2 separate regions of the Homo sapiens genome follow, and region 1 is linked to region 2. The links are contacts of gene promoters, found by promoter capture Hi-C in human tissues and cell types (Jung and others, 2019). All regions are on one chromosome and are shown on one strand. Each heading gives the region's core, a stretch centred on a gene start or on the middle of the fragment in contact. The rest is flanking DNA. Distances are from core to core; before and after follow the strand shown. Region 1 overlaps LOC102724680 (a long non-coding RNA gene). Region 2 holds the start of TSPAN19 (tetraspanin 19).

What was found. The method cuts DNA at HindIII sites, captures the fragments that hold promoters and counts their contacts. A contact is called where the count stands out against the background at its distance.
Region 1: a fragment that was not itself captured here is called in contact with the fragment with the promoter of TSPAN19 in region 2 in 2 of the 25 tissues and cell types used here (dorsolateral prefrontal cortex and hippocampus).

Annotation. Positions count from the first base shown.
Region 1 is chr12:84,927,379-84,932,508 of GRCh38, reverse strand. The region is part of intron 2 of LOC102724680 (a long non-coding RNA gene); the gene reads right to left. Among named protein-coding and RNA genes, the nearest start is that of SLC6A15, 17 kb to the right of the region's middle. The HindIII fragment of the contact is 6,511 bases long and covers 1-5,130 here.
Region 2 is chr12:85,033,689-85,039,251 of GRCh38, reverse strand. It overlaps TSPAN19 (tetraspanin 19), which reads left to right and starts at 2,975. Exons shown (of 9, transcript NM_001100917.2): 1 at 2,975-3,048. It overlaps LRRIQ1 (leucine rich repeats and IQ motif containing 1), which reads right to left and starts at 2,901. Exons shown (of 27, transcript NM_001079910.2): 1 at 2,845-2,901; 2 at 944-1,099. The coding sequence starts at 1,075. The HindIII fragment of the contact is 3,053 bases long and covers 2,127-5,179 here.

The DNA.
Region 1 (5,130 bases), core at 762-3,261, 110 kb after region 2:
AAATGGTTCCCCATCTGATAATTTTATTTCTATCATTGATGTCCCATTATTTTACTATTCACCTTGAATATTTTGAATTTTTATAACTTTTCCTTTACCTTTTACCCCACTTTTCTGTTATGCCAGTAAAAAATAAATTGCATTTTAAAAAACAAATAGCTTTTTGTCAGTTGGAGAAGGAAAGAAAGTTCAATAGCTTATACAAAGGCAAGGAAAGCAAGGCACATAGTAAATATTTTCTCACATTTAATTTTTTTGAATTAGACATTATATTTGGTCTCTTTGGCTTTATATATTTATTTTTATTTGTTCTTATGTAGTGGAAACTTCACTTTTTTCCATTATGGATTCTTTAGGTCTCCCCAACAAGGTGTGAAATTCTAGCATTGAACAAGGAAAGTGAAACAAATTCATAATATATACACAAGGGAGCTTGTATATATTATGTTCATGAGGAAAATTAAATTAAAGGATAAAAATAAAAACAATTTTTCAGCATAATTTTCATCACATTCAAGACGCTTTTGTAAGCAATAATACCAGCCATTTAGTCCATTCCTAAAGAATTGAAAATTCTGGGAATCTAACAATGTCAATGTAGTTTTTTTCACATTATTAACTGAAGAAAAATGGGTGGCCTTTATAGATTTTTTTAAGATTAGAAACAAAAAGAAGTCAGAAGGAGCCAAATCCAAACAGAAAGATGGATGCCTAATGATTTTTCCATCAAAGCTCTTGCAAAATTGCCCTTCTTTGATGAGACGAATGAGCAGGAGCATTGTCATGGTGGAGAAGGACTCTCTGGTGAAGCTTTCTCAGGTGTTTTTCTGGTAACACTTTGATTAACTTTCTCAAAACCTTCATAAAAAGCGGATGTTATTTTTTCTCTGGCTCATCAGAAAGTCAACAAGCAAAATGCCTTGAACATCCCAAAAAGCTATTGTCATGACTTTTGCTCTTGACTGGCATGGTAGCCATTGCTTTGACTGTGCTTTGTCTTCAGGATCCTACTGGTAAAGCCATGTTTTATCTGCTGCTACAATGCTTTGAAGAAATGCTTCAGGATTTTGGTTTCATTTGTTTAAAATTTTCATGGAAAACTGTGCTCTTATTTGCAGCTGATGTGGGTATAATCGTTTTGGCACTCATCAAGTGGAAAACTTGTTGAACTTAAATTTTCGAGTCAGAGTTGTGTAAGCTAAACCAATGGAGATGTCTGCAGCGCTGGCTATTGTTTCTGCTGTTAATCCTCAATCTTCTTCAATTAGGGCATGAAAAAGCGAACAATTTATTTTCCTTCAAAATTATTGTTGATGGTCTGCCACCATAGAATTCATTTTCAACATCTTCTTGTCTTTTCATAAAATGAGTTTTCCATTTGTAAAGTGCTGATTTCTTTAGGACATTGTCTGCAATGTTTATTTTGGTGCAAAAAAATTGAAATTCATGCATAGATTTTTCATAATGCACATTTTCCATGAACTTTTTAAGAACCTCTTTAGATGTTAGCCACTTTTATAAATGCTTTACATAACTTTTAACACTTACAGCTATCTTGTAAGGTAGGTGCTATTATCTCCATTTTACAGAGAAGAAAGCTGAAACACAAAAATGTTAAGTGAGCTTCCAAAGCTATACAGATAGCACATGGCAGAGTTGAGCTTCGATCCCAATAAAAGAGGCTTCTGAGTCTGTGGTCTTCAGCAGTGTTGTCTGCCTGTCAAGACTGTGTAGATTCAAGGTTAGCAAGACTAACATACTGAAGAGAGCAGCCAAATGTTCAAATAAAATGTCTAGCTGTGTTTGGGATGTTCAAAGTTAGAAATGATAGCTCACAGAGATTACAGCTCAGCGATGAGAGCTGTTTCATAAGTAAAATGTTTGTTGAGACAATGGTAGAAACAGAAAGAATAATTTGAAATGGATCAATATGAGAAATGTTTTATGAAATAGCTGATAGAATTCGCTAATATACTATATAATCATGTGTTGCTTAACAATGGGGATACATTACGAAAAACTTATCATTAGGTGATTTTGTCATTCTGTGAACCTCAAAGAGTGTACTTACACCAACCTAGATGTACCATACTACACATATAATCTCTGTGGTATAGCCTATTGCTCCTAGGCTACAAAACTGTACAGCATGTTACTGTACTGAATATTCCAGGTAATTGTACATAATGGTAAGTTTGTATACCTGAACATATCTAAACATAGGAAAGGTGCTGTAAAAATAGAGTATAAATGATTTTTTAAAGAAAATATATGCTTTTATAGGACAGTTACCATGAATGGAGTTTGCAGTATGGGAAGTTGCTCTGGGATGCATTAGTGAGTGAGTGGTAAATGAATATGAAGGCCTATGACCTTACAGCACACTTTTATACAATTGGCAGCACAGATTTGTTTAAGCCAGCATCACTGAAAACATGAATAATGCATCACATTATGACCCTATGATGGCTATAATGTCATCAGGTGGTAGAAATTTTCTGATTCATTATAATCTTATGGGAAGACCATCATATATTTAATCCATCCTTGACTGAAATGTTGTTATGTGGTATGTAATTGTATATAGAAAAAGATGAAAAGATGGTAGCTCCATGAACTTTAATGTTTTTCTTGATACTTGATTGAGACCTCTAAGGACCTTTCCTTAATCAGAATAAAGTCAACATCCAAGGGCTTATCTGGCATGTAGTATACACACAAAAAAACCAAAACTCTTTTCAGAGGTAATATTTTGGCCAAGTAGGTTTTCAAGCAGGAAATCCTTGCCATGAGCAATATTTGAGACATGTGGATCCACTTTTGAGGTTGGAAAAGAATTCAGTCCAAGCACTATGGGCATAAGAAACAGATCAAGCTCTAGAAAGATAGATTAGACCTTTCTAACATGATATACTGAGGTTGGATTCTAGCACGCACTTTGGAAAAGTGATTCAGAATCCTTTTAAAATGCACATTAATACATTTTAAAAGCTCTGAAATCTATTATATATATATATATATATATATATATATTTTAAATTATTTATTTATTTAGAAAGAGAATCTTGCTCTGTTGCCCAGGCTGAAGTACAGTTGCATGATCTCACTTCACTGTAGCCTTCACCTCCTGGGCTCACGTGATCCTCCTGCCTCAAGCCCCCAAATAGCTGAGACTACAGGCACACATCACCAGGACTGGCTAATTTTTATATTTAGTAGAGTTGGTGTTTTGCCACATTTCTCAGACTGGTCTCAAACTCCTGGGCTCATGAGATCTGCCTATCTTGGCCTCCCAAAGTGCTGGGACTACAGGGGTGAGCCACTGCACTTGGCTTGAAATCCAATTTTAAATCATTGAATATTGTTATTTTCAAAGGAAATATGATCTTCTTGGCTGTATTTCTTTCCTACAACAAACAAAACTATTCTAAGAAATTATCTGACAGATCCTTATAACTGTAACTGGACTATGGCATATCAACTTAGAATTAAAATAGCCCTGTGTTTATTGCAGAACAGTTTAAATAAGTTTTATTTTCTTATGTAAAACCTGGAACACAAACTCTCACAATTAGAAGCTCTTTTACGAGGTACTTGGTATCCTAGCAGAACTGCTGTGTTTCATAAGACGTGTGTCTTCAAAAACACTTTCTGCTTCCAGCTTTCTGGTTTTAACTTGACTATCTTTTAGGTTTCCTGTTCTGGTTAAGGCAATGTTAGCTTCCCAACTCTTCACATTCGGGCTAACAACAGACCCTTATTTTCTTTCAGAAAACTAAATCTAATTAACCACAAGATCTCTTAGATTTCACCTTTTCAGTGATTCTCAAGAGATGTTCTTTCCTTTCCTGAGATTATACCGTCTCAGACCCCTTGCATCTCCTCTTAAACTATTAGAGAGACCACTATAGTGCTTATGTATGCTTAGCAGTTTGGAAATGTTTTCTATTAAGAATGAATGAATAAATGGTTACTCCTTCTCCCCAAAACTGCTATGATTGCCCACTTTTTGTGGCAATAAGTCCCAAATCTTTAGCACTGTGATCAAGCAAATCTCCAGGACACGATTTAATTACCTTTGCAATCTCATCTCTCACTATATCCAAACACATATCTAATTTCTTCTCATGGGCGAAATGTACTCTGACAGGTGTGTACTTTTTTGGTATTATTCCCTTGATCTGAAATATCTTTCTCTAAATTTTCTCCTTGAAAAAAAAATCCTATTCTTCCTGTAAAGTCCCTCTCGACTCTATACATAGTCATTGAGAGCACAAACTTGGAAGATAGACCCATTTTTTAAAAGTTCCACCAGTTTCCTTTAAAGCTAAATATACAACAACTATGGTATGGCACAAGAGTTCTATCCAAGGAATTTACATAAAAGAAATGAACAAAAAAAAGTACACAAAAAGAAATATGCAAGAATATTTGTAGCAAAAGTATTCTAAACATTCCACATTGAAAATATCACAGATATCCATAATTAAGAGTATGAATAATCATTGTATATTTGTATTCATCTGAAAGAATTCTACTCAGCCATAAAAAGAAACGCAAACAACATGGATGAATCAAAAAGCATTATGCTCAGTGAAACTAGCATTAATAAAAGACACTACTCTATTATTTTATTTATACAAAGTTGTAGAGATGTAAAATGTATGTATGTTGGAAAAAGAAAATCTGAAAAGTAGTTGCCTCTGGGTAATGATGTAGGTGTTGACTGGGAAGAGGAAAGAACAAATTTTCTCCAGTGATGACAATGTTTTATATCTTGACAAGTAGTTGGGTTACAGAGTTGTGTCAAGATTCTAAATGATATACTTAAGACTTGTTAACTTTGTCTTATGTAAATTTCATCTCCAAGGGAAAAAAAAGAACTATAAACATATTGAATTCCAGTGAATATGTGCTGAAGTGTTTAGGGAGAAAATGCATTGATGTTTAAAATTTATTTGGAAATGCTTCAATAAAATATGATGGTTTGATGGTTAGGTAGAATGATGAAAAGATGGTCTAATGTGTATAGGAAACTGTTTCTTTACACTCAGTTCCCACCAAAGATGTAAGCTTTCCACATCAACCAATTCTCCAATTTTCTGTGGACTCCAGTTGGGTATCCTACAA
Region 2 (5,563 bases), core at 1,726-4,225:
ATTGAAACAGAAGGGCTTTAAAATTTTCTTCTTCCTTTATATAAAAAGGTATAATAAAATATAAAACAATCCATTATTCTGTTGGATTTCATACTCAAATAAAGAATTTCAGATTTTTTTGCCTCATTTAAATGAGCTCTGGATAAAAGACATAATAATGTAACAATGTTAATTTTTCTAAATGTAATAGGTAGGTTTAGTGCAATCCTAATAAAATAACAAAGTTCTCAAATCTTTAAAAAATTTTCTTTTTCAAAAAAAGCTTAGTTAAGATTTTCAAATGATAAAAAGATGTGAAGAATTTGGTCCACTCAATATTTACAAATATACAACAGTAGGAAAATAATGAATAAAGTAATGGAAAAGAACAGACAGCCTTGGATAGATCATATGTACAATAACTATCAGTAAGACATATGATAAATCAATTGAGAAAAATTAGATTATTAAACAAGAGACACTGGAAATATTAGCTCAATATGTGCAGGAGATTTTCAAATTAGTTCTACATTTCATAACATTCCTGAAAATAAATTCCAGTTGGATTAAGGATATTGGTATAAATGAATAAATCTATGAATAAACTCTGAAGCATATAAACATTGGTAAATATACACAAATAAAAGGATAATTTGTTTTATTTCCAAAAGTAACCATTTTGATATGTCAAAAGATTTCATATACATTTTTCTTCCCATGTAATTTAATCATGCTAAAATGTTCACAAGTAAAAACAAAAATCAGGATATAAATATATATAATGATAATCCCAATTTTACGAAGATGTATAGGTGACTATATATATTCAATATAATTTATATTTATATAAATTGTTTATAACAATGCTGCTAAAAATGAGAAGTACATAAAAACATCCTGAGAAAAGTAATATTTCTCCTGAAAAGCCTACTCCTGTTAAAAGGCTCAAAAGTGCAATACTCACTGTATCACTATCATCACTCTGGGTTTCTGATTTTGCATCACTCTCAATGTCTTCTTTTTCCAAGGAGGAAATGCTGAGTTTATCCAATTCAGCTTCTATTTCTGCTTTGAGCTTTGCATCATCATCGTCCATTATTCTTCATAATAAAGCACAGAACTGCTTTAAAAAATGAAGAGGCTAATATGTCACTAAAAATTATGTGTTCTCTAATTTGTCATACCAATCCAACATATTTATTTAAATATGTTTTAATTTAACAAACTTTTATCACACCTTATTATGGTTACACCAAACATTGTTTTATCTCTTCAATCATTCTTTTTAAACTTTGACTACAAAATGATCAACTGTAATTGTACGCTAATACTCTTATTGATTTATATGTTTATATAATTTTACTATATATAATAAAGATCAGAATTGTTTATAAAATTTTTGTTTCAGTTATTAATACATATAAATGTAGGTATGTATGCATGAGTTGCAATGTAATATGTGTTGTTGTTAATGTTCTGTTTTTTATTTTTCACTGTTGGTCTTAGTCCCAAAAAAGGTTTGAAAACGTACTAGTCAGCTATCATTTTATTTTTCATGACACTAGTTTAAACCTTTCTTTCTTTACTCAAGGGCCTGACCTTTCCACCTGTCTTCTTGTTCTTTTCTTCATTCCTTCTTTCCATCCTCTTTCCCTTTCGTTAATTCCTCCTTTCACTCTACTCAATCATCTCAAAATCAGTTCTACCCATAACTTCCACCCTCACTCACTCACTCAAAAATAAAAAATAAAATAAAAAAAGGAAAAGAAAGAAAAGAAAAGAAAAACAAAGTGAAATGGAACTCCAGACAGAACCAGGGCAAAATATTATCCTGCAATGGAACTCAAAGTGCATTTAAAAAGCTTTATTAGAAGGAAAGCTAGATTTTTTTTTTATGCCTACAAAGCAAAATGCACGGGTATACTAAACTTTATATAGAAAGAGAGGCAGGAGAGTATGGTGGAGGTAAGAGTCATTTCCTTTACATGACTTTCTCTGTTCATCTACTGGCTCATTAGATCACCCCTGTCCAATTACATATTTGAGCACTTACGCAAGTTTAAATTTTCTATTAGCAACTTTTTAAAAACAAAAGAGAAGTGCAATTAATTTTTATAATATATTTTATTTAACCCAATATATCCAAAATATTTCAACGTGTAATAACAAAATTAATTATTAATATCATTGCAAAGAGTTTATATTCTTTCTTTGGACAGTAATTCTTAGAAATCTGTTGTGTGTTTTACACCTGCAGCACATCTCAGTTAGGATTAGCTGCATTTCAAGTCCTCAGTAGCCACCTGCAGTTAGTGGTTACTGTATATGACGTGCAGTCATGGATGGGTCTCACTGTAAATGGGCTACATTAAAGTGCTCTAAGTTGATAACGAATCACTTGGAGTTCACTAAAGCTGTCAAAAGTAGAAAAGCTTAAGGAACTCCCCCTTCAACCCCTGTAAAGAAAGGGGAGAGAAATCTACTTTATAAGGTTCATATAAATTATATATTACCAAAAAAAAAAGAAAGAAAGAGAGACAGAAAAAGAAAGGGTGGAAAGGAGGGCGACAAGAAGGGAAGGAAGGAAGGAAAATAACGTCAATTGGTTTGTGGGGAGCGGTGAGTGAGTAACCATCGAATGATCCCTACATAGCCAAGACATCTCTTTAAGTTTTGAATGAGTTCTCGAAATCTCCAGGGTGGAAGGGAGCCTCGAGCTTCGCAGAGTCGCACAGCCATCCCCTGACCCGCGGTCTCTCCCTTTGCTGGAAGTCTGGCCAGGCAGAGAGAGTCCCGGCTCGGCCTGAGCTCCCACAGCTGTTCACCTCCCTCAACGGGAATCCCAGTCTTAAGACCCCGGCTCACCCCTCAGCAGCGAGATTCCTTGGCTTTGTTGTAAGACAGCGCCCATAGCCGCTACACAAAGCGTATCCATGGCAACAGCCAATCACAAGGAAGAGACACCGGTTTTTCCCTACAGGTGCTCTAGAAGGACAAACAATCTCGATTCTAAATTGAAACGAACGCAGCATTTCAGGGACTGGATGAGGAGCTTACGGTTTTTTACAGGTAGATTTTAATATTTAAGTAACTTTGGAAAATACTTAATAAAATGAAATTTTGTTATAATTACCCAAGTAGATGTAATCTCACTTTTAAATTTTTTAAATTGTTTCTGAGCTACATATATTTATATTTCCATCTGGTGATTTGCCCATGTATAAGGTGTTCATTCCACAAACCCTTAATCCTGAACAGTGATTTGTGGGACATAGAAGTATGGAAGAGAAGTCAATAAGTTGTTTGCCTTCCATGACAACAGTTTTTTAAAAAAGAAAAGAAAAGAAAAAGGAAAAAAGAAAAAAATCATCAATCAATGCCCATCAAAAACCTCTAACTGAAGGGATGTGGGTGAGAAATTTGAAAAATTATTTTCTGGAGTTATTTTACTGTAAAAATATTGTCACACAGTATTTCAATATAAAACCTTAATTTCTAAGTTTATGTCATGCTATTTAATTTTAACTTAATTTATTAAAGTTTTTTGTGGAGCAAATACATAGGGTACAAAATAATATTTTAATTAATAACATATTTTTTACTTTAATTTTCTTTTAAAGTTTGCAAATAAGGCATTAAATTCTAAAAGGAAGTAGCCATAATTGTAAAAGGTATCTGCTATAAAATAAGCTAAAAGCAAATATTTCACTGAGCCTCTGGAAAAAAAATAGACTACATTTCCTGGTAACAATAAACTTGAATTGCATCAACATAAGAACTAATAATATAAAGTGAGACGTTAATAGATTTCTCATATTAAAAGCACACATGTTAGTTTCCTTTTCAGGAAAGATGATTTTAAAAAATAAACTACACTTGGTTTCAGGTCTAATTAAATTCAGAGTATTTTCATTATCAAAGTCCATGCTCAAATGGAATTTGTTCTTTTTTTTAAGTTTGGTTTTATTGCTGATTTATAGACTATTGAAATTATCTATTTTTTATTGTTTTTTTAGAGACAGGGTCTCCCTCTGTTGCCCAGGCTGGAGTGCAGTGGTACAATTATTGCTCACTGTAGCCTCCAACTCTTGTACTCAAGTAATCCTCCCGCCTTGGCCTCCCAAAGCACTGGGATTATAGGTATGAGCTACTGTGTTCGAACCTCAAACTGTTCATTTAAAATAGACTTTCATATTGTGTTGAAGTTCACATAAGAATCTTAAGATTAGTTTTATTTTTGATTGTGAAACTATCCAGACTTCTAAAAATTATAAATCCTTTAATAATTTCAAAATTAATTTTGAATAACTAGTTTTCATAATCAAATAATTTTGGAAATAATGCCTTAGTTCCTTTCCTTCTCAAAGCTTACTTTGTCAAATATTGACAGCAAAAAAGAAAAACAGTGAAAGATTTTCTGAAGATAAATTAATTCATGGTGATAGATCTCCTATATTGTCATGCGATTTTTTACTTTGGAAGAAAGGACAACTTTATCAATTAGTCATAATTTCGCTAGAATATAACTAATCAAAAATAAAAGGCAGCAGTTATCTAATACATTTGTAGATTATAAGTAAATTTAACTTGACACTGTTGTTTATCAACCATGTAGTATTTAGCAGAAGTCCATTTTAATTGCATTATTCCTAGAAACGGTAACTTCAGATTGAGTATGTTGGTTTGCCTATGACTCTTTAACCTGAGTAGACTTTTGTTTCTTTTGAACATGTTAACTTCATTTCATTTAAATTTTAAAAACAATTTGTAGGTGTGGTTGATTTATAGCATATTGGCTTAACAATGCATATTTCCTTTAGAGAGTACATAATAAATATTTATTGAGAGAATGAAAGAATGAGAGATAACTGTTTGTTCTTTGTTATCTGACAAGACTAATATTCCTTTGAAAATGTGTTGTAGTGAAATCATTTTAGTTTAAGAGCATTTTTCAACAACTGCTTTATTCTTCATATGGCAGTGATATAATTTAAATATCCCATAATATCATTGTTGTGTTCAAAATAGTTGCAGAGCAGGTATTTCTTTGTTTCATTTTCTTGAGGCACCGTAATTATTGAGTAAAAGTAATTTACTATGTAGCTCATAGTACCACATATTGTATTCTTAGGCCTCTCATTCTCTTGTTCCACTTAAAGTGTGTCTCAAGCCTTCAGATTCTCTAACTCTCTTTGTGCTCCCTCCCAGCTGCTGTCATGACCAACCACTTCACAGAAAAATGAGAATTTATGACTTTCCCACAGTTTCCATCCCATTCCCCATTCTCACATGCATGACTCTTGTATAATCTTAATATTTCTATACTGAGATATGATATAACGAGATTCTAGCCTTATGATATAACGAGATAACTAACATCTAGCCAGGCACTGGGCTAAGAGCTTTACAAACATAATCTCATCTAATTTTCACAACATCTCTTTGAGGCATGTACTATTACAATCTGCATTTACAGATGATGATACTGGGGCTTGGGAAAGTTATTGAGAGGGTGGTTTATATCAATGGAGTTAAATCTCATCTCTGCCATTTATTAACTAAGTGACCTTTGGCAAGTAATTTT